Linked DNA regions of Homo sapiens: region 2 is linked to region 1. Evidence: promoter capture Hi-C in 16 types of primary human blood cells and fetal thymus (Javierre and others, 2016). All regions are on one chromosome and are shown on one strand. The core of a region is centred on a gene start or on the middle of the fragment in contact, and the rest is flanking DNA. Distances in the headings are between cores, read along the strand shown. Region 1 holds the start of IFT57 (intraflagellar transport 57). Region 2 overlaps BBX (BBX high mobility group box domain containing).

What was found. Contacts are between HindIII fragments. The CHiCAGO score rates a contact against its expected background, and 5 or more counts as called.
Region 2: a fragment that was not itself captured here is called in contact with the fragment with the promoter of IFT57 in region 1 in 2 of 17 cell types (fetal thymus and M1 macrophages); the score reaches 6.0 in fetal thymus.

What each region holds. Positions count from the first base shown.
Region 1 is chr3:108,220,555-108,225,223 of GRCh38, reverse strand. IFT57 (intraflagellar transport 57) reads left to right here and starts at 2,800. Exons shown (of 11, transcript NM_018010.4): 1 at 2,800-3,113. The coding sequence starts at 2,902. LOC124909405 (a long non-coding RNA gene) reads right to left here and starts at 2,619. Exons shown (of 2, transcript XR_007095999.1): 1 at 2,538-2,619; 2 at 740-2,278. RefSeq lists a silencer at 2,593-2,886 and an enhancer at 2,822-3,081. The HindIII fragment of the contact is 9,168 bases long and covers 2,250-4,669 here.
Region 2 is chr3:107,673,573-107,678,005 of GRCh38, reverse strand. The region is part of intron 3 of BBX (BBX high mobility group box domain containing); the gene reads right to left. Among named protein-coding and RNA genes, the nearest start is that of BBX, 150 kb to the right of the region's middle. The HindIII fragment of the contact is 1,156 bases long and covers 735-1,890 here.

The sequences.
Region 1 (4,669 bases), core at 1,551-4,050:
GTAGCTGGGATTACAGGCGCCCATCACCACGCCTGGCTAATTTTTGTATTTTTAGTAGAGACGGGGGTTTCACCATGTTGGCCAGGCTGGTTTCGAACTCCTGACCTCAAATGATCCGCCTGCCTCAGCCTCCCAAAGTGCTGGGATTACAGGCATGAGCTACCGTGCCCGGCCTGGAATGCTATTTAGTTTTCAGAGTTTCACAGAAAGATCCACGAGTTTTAAAAAGCTGAGGCAGGGGAACCGCTTAAATCCAGGAGGCGGAGGTTGCAGTGAGCCAATATCGTGCCATTACACTCCAGCCTGGTGACAGGGCAAGACTCCGTCTCAAAAAAAAAAAAAAAAAAAGTTACTTTCAATTACCTCACAGATAGTTTGAAAGAAATAAAAGTCAAAGTCAGAAGGCCAGCTATTAATAGTGGCGAATACAGTAAAACCAGGGATGAAATTGAGATTTTACAGGAAGAATGAACATGGCTCATTCTCTTCAAGCTCTAACTCCTTAGTCAACAAATAAACTAGTCCTGCAAACCAAAACAACAAAAAAAAACCTGATACAACTGTATTCCCCAAAGTTTCCAAGTGGCTGAAACAGCTAGAAGAGGATTTGAGTGCATTTTCACACACACGAAGAAAACTATCAAGGAAAAGATCTTTTGATGTGTTACAAACTATTACAGGTAAACAAGGAATCAGCAAAAATAATCCCTGGGCTTTACAAAACAATGAAATTTCAGTGTTCTTTCTAAAACTTTTTATTGGGGAAACATGCAGTATTGAACAGTTAGCTTTTTTGTTCTCTTTGTGCCACAATTACTGGAAATACTTTATATTTTTGGGTTTTTTTCTTCTTCACAATTAAGGGGGGAAATTATTCTGTATACTGCTTTCAGGCCAGGCTGTGTCAGTATTTTACCTGGGAAGGAAATGGCTAAGACCCTGGGAGTCGTTTTGTTTCCCCCAAGTTAAAATACATACGTTGCTGGAGGATTTATCAGCTAAAAAGCAACGTTTGACTATTTCATACTGTGTTACGTAACTTCCTGAAAATGTCAGAACATCTTAAGTAGGCAGCATGCCTGGCAGGAACATCTCCCTCCCTGAGTGTAATAAATTTACTTCCAAAGTCTGAGAGCTTTTTCAGAGTCATGTAAAAAGCCCCAGTTTGCTTGTTAGTTAACTTAGGACCCCAAAACATATCTAAGCTTTCATTTTTCAGTCTTATAAAGCCATACATCTATCTTACACTACTGTGACTGTTATACATACATATAACACCCCCAAGCTGCACATGTGGTGGTGGTTGGGGTATGGACTTATCGGGGAGAATCACTGTTTCAAAAAGGCAAAGACCAGGAAAGATCAATTTGGTAGTGGGGTAACATCAAATCCAATTTTCTCACTCAACTTTATTAAAAGCAGCTGGCTCATGACTTGTGGTAGGCAAGCAATGTTATTTATTTAAAAAGCAATTCTCAGTGGGCTGCCCTTCAGGTTATTCTCTACATAAGTCTGTAATTTTATGTACTTCCTTTCTTTAATGAAAAAATGGTATTTGCCCTTCTGACTTTTCACTTTGATAACCTTATTAGTATCAGAAACAAGTTAGCTGTAGACGGATTACAATGAAAAGTGTTCTCATTTTTTCTAATAAAAACAGGATATTGTAGATACATTTCAAATTTCAGTTGTCCAAAAATGTAGCCCTTCTATATTTTGTAGTGGCAGATACAAGAGATCAGAGAGCCCTTAAAAGTCACGTTATAAACATGAACATATGTTCAATCTCTTGTACTAAGTTTTCTTCCCAAAAACTGCCAGGCATCCACCACTTACCTCATTTTTTGCAACTGTTAAGAAAATTGCCTAATACAGAAGCCTTTTGAAAACTGTAAAGCTGGGCCATTTCTGTGGTCAGTTATGTACCTTTTCTTAAATTTTCTAGGTCAATAACTGCAGAATACAGTAGTAACACCCTATCTTTAGCCACCCTTAGAGCTTTAGGGCAGGGAAATTCCTTTTAAGACCATCTCTATTCTGTTGGATTTAACGAAGTACCCAAACACTTTATACTACATGTAATGGGTTTGAAACAGATTAAGCAGCAGGATGGAAGCTTAGTATTCTTGTTTTTGAAGTAAAACAAATCCTTCCAAATGCCTCCTTTTGTTCATTGTCTTCCTCATCCTTCCAACCACTTTCCTAGCACTGGAGTAACAGCCAGGCAACGTAATACAGTACTTCAAGCTTTACAATATACTGTTAAGTGCAGCATTGCCTAGTGAGAGAAAGATAAAATTAAAGAAAGAACGAGAGAAACCTCTCGTTGGAAAGTTCCTGCAGTAAAAGTGAAACCTATGGTATTGACTATCTTTACAACTATGAAAAACTTTTCAATTCTGAGAAAATAAAGGTATCAGTGAGCCAGTGCAGCCTTCAGTGCTACACGTCTTCACCTCCCTTTAATCTTTTTAACAGCTACTAGCTGACCCAGATGCCCGCTTAATTGCTTTTAGCAACCACCAGGTCCAACACACCTCAAGCCAGCTCAAGACTCACTAGGCAAGCGGAGCAGAAACGTAAGCCGGCTCCCTTCAGACTTTCAGCGAGGGAGAAGACGCAGCCGGCAGTGGGGCGCGAACGCCACGCCTCCATGAGGGGCGGGGCTGCTTCCCGACCACCATTTCCACAGAGGCAGGGCAAGAAGAGGGCCACAGGTGACGTCATTCAGGAAAGCCGCCCTGATTGGAGGGAAGGAGGCGGAGTCTAGTTTCCCTGGTGACGGATTGTCCGGTGGTCGCCTGGTAACCGGTCGTGGCTGTACTGGCGGCGGCAGGGCTGGCGGCTTAGGCCGCAGAGGTCTGTGGGCCTGAGCCCACGCTGGACTCTGTCCGTTCTGCGATGACTGCTGCTCTGGCCGTCGTCACGACGTCGGGTTTGGAAGATGGGGTGCCTAGGTCCCGTGGCGAAGGGACCGGGGAAGTGGTCTTGGAGCGGGGGCCCGGCGCGGCCTACCACATGTTCGTGGTGATGGAGGACTTGGTGGAGAAGCTGAAGCTGCTCCGCTACGAGGAGGAGTTCCTCCGGAAGAGCAACCTGAAGGCCCCGTCCAGGTGGGTGCCGGCGTCCCCGAGCGCCCGGGTGCCTGCTAGCCCCCAGGGAGATGCCCTCCTTGGTCCTGCTGGGAACCAGTTTCGTGAGAGCGGGTTAGCAATTCCTTGCCTCCGTCTTCCTAGCCAGGGAAGGGCACTTCACCCCAAACTCCCGGGAGGTCCGTGGAGCTCACGCAGCCCTGACTTGGTATTTTTGTAGAGAGAATAAATAAGTTTTGGAACGGCAGAAAGGATCGGAAGACAGCTTGCCTGTTTTTTTCCAACACACACGCATTACCAGAAAACACAAACTATATTTTCTGATTGTAAAGATGAAACAAATACTCATTGAAGAAAACTCAGAAAAACACAAGTAAATGTCTAGAAAAATTATAAGACCGTCCAAAATTCGCCTCCAGAGAGGAATGCCATTATCACTTAAGGCTTTTTTTCTAGTTTGGGGTTTTTTGTTGTTGTTTAAGACCCTGTTCATACAACTGGGGACCGTGGGTACTTAGGATCCTGTTAAGGAGCACTTTAAATGCGGTTAGTAAACTTGTTAACTACTTGCTATGGTTTAAAAGACTTCTGCCTTTGTAATAACCATACTCTCAGAAACTGAAAAGTGGAAAAGACGAATGACAACTATTGAATTGTCCCCCTATCATAGAACCTAAAGTTTTACCCTTGTTCCGGTGGGGGAAAAGTCCAACATATCCTGAAAGCAATGCCATTACTTGCTGAGGGTAGTGGTCAGCTAGGACCTTCTCCTCAAATCACTGTAGCTTAGCAGTAGCCAGATAAATCAGTTTTATAGCTTTTCTTTCACTTTAATACTTACATTTGTATATTTTATTCCATAAAAGGCAATCAGTATTAAGAATCTATAGTACTTAATGTCTACAGCCAGGCTCAAATAATTTCCCTTGATAGTTTTAATCTCATTCCACTGCTGTCTTCCAATAACTTGAATTGAAAGATATGTAGGCTTGATATAAACTGTTCATATTAAATTAGTCCATGGTCGGAGAAAAGATAAAGGAAAAAGTAGTGTTGCTTGATCCATGTTAGAAAAGGTAGTCCTGGGATTATTACTTAAAGTGAATTGATCAGGATAATATAGACAACCAACATTTCCTATGTTAATAAAAATGCATTTTTTTCCAAGTATATTTTTAAAATGAAAACAAAATGTCCTTAAGGTTCTGTTGATGTCATCTCTTGCACTGTGTCCTCAGGGGTTCAGCAGGATACTTTGAATCATGGATTTGTGTGGGGATATCCTAGTCCAATGGTTCTCAAAATGTGATCACCAGACCAACAGCATCAGCATCACCTGGGAACTTACTAGAAATGAAATTCCTCAGGCCCTTTCCCAGGTCTACCTTTTCAGTAATTATAGGGATGGGGCCTAGCATCTGTTTCAGTAAGCCTTCCAGATGATTCTGATGGACACTAATGTTTGGGAACCACTGTCCTAGGTTTACAGTATCTATTGGTGTTCATTCCTCTGCCCTAGAAGAGTTATCTGCCGATAAGGAAAAGATGACTTTTTGGTGGGTGGGTGCTTTGAAAGG
Region 2 (4,433 bases), core at 63-2,562, 550 kb after region 1:
ATTATTTCTCTGTGATAAAATTATGGATGAGGTTTTCTTCTTTTTGGTAATTCTATTTTCTAGCTTTTCTTTAACTTAAAATACAAATAATTCAAAAATCAAAAAAGAAGACGTTGGGGTATACTTATAGTTCCGTAAACAATAAGCTTTTAAAAATACTAATAGGCTAAAGAGATTAACCAAATCATTGGTAAATTTGTATGCACTTAAGAATAAGATTGTTAGCTTGTTAATACAGATGTTTCTCAACTTACAAGTAACTTAAAAATATAATTAGTGGAAAATGTCTTTAATATACCCAAGTTACTGAATATCATAGCCTAACCTAGCTTAAACATGCTTGAAAAACTTTTAGTATTCGATAAGTTACATAAGATATGCAACACTATCATAAAATAGGCTTTCTGTTAGATGATTTTGCCCACTTGTAGGCTAATATAACTGTTCTGAGCATGTAGGCAGGCTAAGCTAAGTTATGATGTTTGGAAGGTTAGATGTATTAAACGCATTTTTTGACAGGATATTTTCAACTTACAGTGAGTGTATCAGGATGTAGCCCCATTTTAAGTCAAAGAGCATCTGTATTTGAAAAATAAATTCAACACTAAGAAATTTTTCAGAGGATCAAGGTCAGTGGTTCTTAGAACTTTAAAAGAACTTTGGAACCACACCAGAAATATAATCTGTATCTCTGCCACAAGCACAATGCCCTACCAAAGCAAAATACCAAAGCTTATTTTCTAACTAATGGATATTCTAGCAGGGGACCAGTTTTCTATGCTTTCCATATTTTTATAAAATTAAGAATGTAAAATGGTTATGAAAGCAAGTTTCCCAATGTTATTAGTACAGGTTACCAATGTCATGCTATGTTTGAGAACATATCAGGAATGTTCTAGAAACGTTTCCTATGATGAGTGGGCAGTATGACAAAATGACTGGTTAAAATTTTTCACTTAAGATTATTTTAAAGTATATATGAATCCATATATTCATGAACAACCAACCTTCAGAGAAAAAAATAAAAACCTGTTCCAATTATACCCTCTAGTCAAGAATGCTTCAGGATAATGCTAAACACAATTACAAGATGCCATCTAGTGGATGTTTTTATAAAATTTCTCTGCTTGCTTACATTTAAATCTTGATGAAATGATCTTTTAAAAAGCTATTCTGCATGAAAAAACACCTATCCCTTACACCGCTTTCTCACCAATTACTGGTCTGAGCTGGTGGACAACATATTTTAAACACACACAACTCTGACTGGTAATATTGATTTTAAATCTCAAGTTGAATATCTGCCACTACCACAAAGAATAAGGAACAGCCCAGTTATCTCCTAAGTGGTCCAGGACCTATAATGGCTGCATAACACAAGTTAGAAAGGAGATTCAATTTAACATGCTTTTATCATTCACTTCAGATGATGATGATAAAAGATTAGCATCATTATATCAGGACAGTAATTACTGTTACTGCTGCCCTACATTTTATGAAAACAAACTCACTTGTTCTAAATAAGCTATGTCTGATATTTAGAAATCAGTATAGTGTTTCCAGCAAAGCTGTGAAAGTGGTACCATGTCCCTACATGTACACAGCTGTAAAGGCTCCTTTTACCATCAGGGTGGCAGTAACACAAGTTATGATCAATTAAATGGTATTAATGAAACCAATTAATGTAGCATAAATACATAAGGCAAAATGGAAGACTGATATCCAACCAAATGTTTATTTATAGTATTAGTCTATGATAATTCAGATACAATTTATAATTAAACTTAATCAGATGAAATCCACATCTATCTAAATTACCTTAGTTATAGACTCATTGTTTTGTTTTCTTTTGATCTTTGGAAGCAGATTCTATAATTTTTTTTAAAAGCTTCTAATTTTCTAGATATTTTCAGATTCCCACATTGTAAAACAGAAATTATCAATTTATTTGGAGGGCATTCCTACTGTGTGATAATAAAAAGTTTTTATTTTAAAAAGTTTTCTGTAGCCTATCATAACTGGCTTCCCTAGGAAAATTCTCCATTTGTCACTGCTATTTCTGGTGTCATATTTAATTTATAGGATAGTTTAAAGAGCTACTCTTCTAAAAATGAAACCCTTCAATATAGACTTGATAGGGACTGCAAATCCAGCCCCTGGAGATCATCTTGTCCCCCAATTCACAGATGACAATAAAAAGACCCACAGGAGTTAAAGGTTAGCTCAAGTTCACCAAACCAATTAGTGGCAGAGTTAAGCTCTGGGTCTCTTGACCACAAAATCAGAACTCTTTCCGCTATATCATACTGCCTTTTTATTCTTCCCCAAATAGTAACAGAATGTCTCCTTTAAAAGCTTCTTAAGGTACTATAGTTTCATTTTTGATCTAAAAGGTCCATGAGGGAACTGCTGCCTAAGTGTATCAGACACAAACGACGGTATTAAAACTGAGCTCCTCCATGATCATGAGAAGAGAGGGGCAAAGCAGCTTCTGTAGAGCAATCCAGATCAGTGGTTTTGACAAGGGGACTGAGAGACAACAGAACAGACTCATCAGTTATTGAAGTGAGAATCTGTGTTGTTTACTAAGAGGGCACAAGGAGCTGCTTCTGCTTCCCATCAGCACAGTCCTTAAACTAGCTGAGGCTGAGGGAGCACGATTTCCTCCGCAGGTGCTCAAAACATGATGGCCAAAAAACAGAAGTTCACAAACTAACCCTCAGTATCTGAGAAGAAAAGCTCTGATTTCCGTCAAAACTGCCATCTTTTGCCTCTCATCATATCACAGAGTAAGGACAGATACACTATACATTCTTTCAGCTCTGAACCCTTTCCAGTCTCCAGGGTCTGAAACTTTAATCTGGATCTTCCTATCAGATTAATGGCAGTTGACACCATTTATGGTATAGTTAAAATGTCCTTTCTTTCTTCTGCAACTTATTTCTTACAATTCATAAACCATATTCTGACATAATAAATGCACACATAAATGGAAGTCTGAAAACTTGGACTCTGTAAGCAGGAGCATGCCTTAGCTAAATCATCTAACCTGTCAATCTCAGGTTCCCTCTTTCGTGTCTGGAGATGGCTGGCCCCTACATTCTAAATTACTCTAAGCCTGTTACTTCTTAAAAACACTCTGCAACAAATTCAACACAATAGAACTTACCAGGCCTTGCCCTAACACTACCTCTTAGCAAAGGCTTTAACAGAAGTCTGAGGAGTGTAGTGATAGGACCAAATCTAAAAGGAGTTCTTTGTAAGATCACATGTGAATTGCTTTTGAGAAAGTCTCTTTAGATGTCTTACTTTGGCTCCTCTTCTATACAAACTGCTGTGGGAGCCTAAGAAAAGCAGCTTTCAAACATGCAAGTACACAGATTTGGTACTGCTGCCGCCAGGCTGCAACCGCTGCCAGGGGAAAGAAGTGAGTCAAAGCAATTCTACGCATCGCACGCCTCAATGTCTTCCCTTCACTTGGCAACAATACACTGGGATCAGTCATCCAGCTAAATGTCCAGAGTCCCAAAGTCATTACTAGCGCAAGGGTTTCTAGTCTAAAACTTCCAAGGTGATATAAAAGTTTAAAATCAGTACAAAGGAGGTCTTTTTATGTTACTACTAAACGCCTGGAATAATCTGTGAAAAATTAGAAGGGTAGTGAGACAATGACTTAGGAATCCTACAATGTGTGTGTTAGAACTTTCAGACACACCTTTCTGGCTCGAAGGCGTTACGGTACTTACTAAAAGAATCAAGAAGAATCAAAAGGCAGTTTTTGGTATTAGTTACATAGTCAGAATTTCCAAAGATATTTACATGTGAATGCCTAATTTTCAGGCTCCTCTGACATGTATTTCCAATTTTTAAGGGACTACAGATGATTTACTGACACGTTCTTTTCCCTTGAAAAATGTATCATCACAAGTGTTATTAATGGTTTGCGTCAAATTCTATCATATATGTTTGAATGCATTTTTTTTCTAAAGAGAGTGATTAATTTTACATTTTGTGGCCATACCACTTGTAAAGAACAGTTCACATCTGTCCACCAACATAAATAAAATACTTGAAGACTGTCACGAGGACAGTGCCTCTTTTGTCAAACTGCTCTATGCGTGTTTTACATGAAACAAGACTTCCAAATGTGGAAAAGGTATGTGTTTATACATGAAGAAATGTATTTCTAACAAGTGGGCTTCTTTATTTTAAAAATAGTTCTACATGTAGTATTTTATGATAATTTTCAAGAGTTTACAGTAGTCAAATGTTATCCAGAATAAGAGAAATTTCTAAAAAAAAACTTGAAGTGGGTCTTACTATAATAATTATCCGGTTGTCTCTAATAAGCAGCAATTTATAAAACAGAAAACTTTATTGTAAGGAGGCATACTTTTAATCAGTATTATTTTCATTCTTTGAGAGTCTTAGAA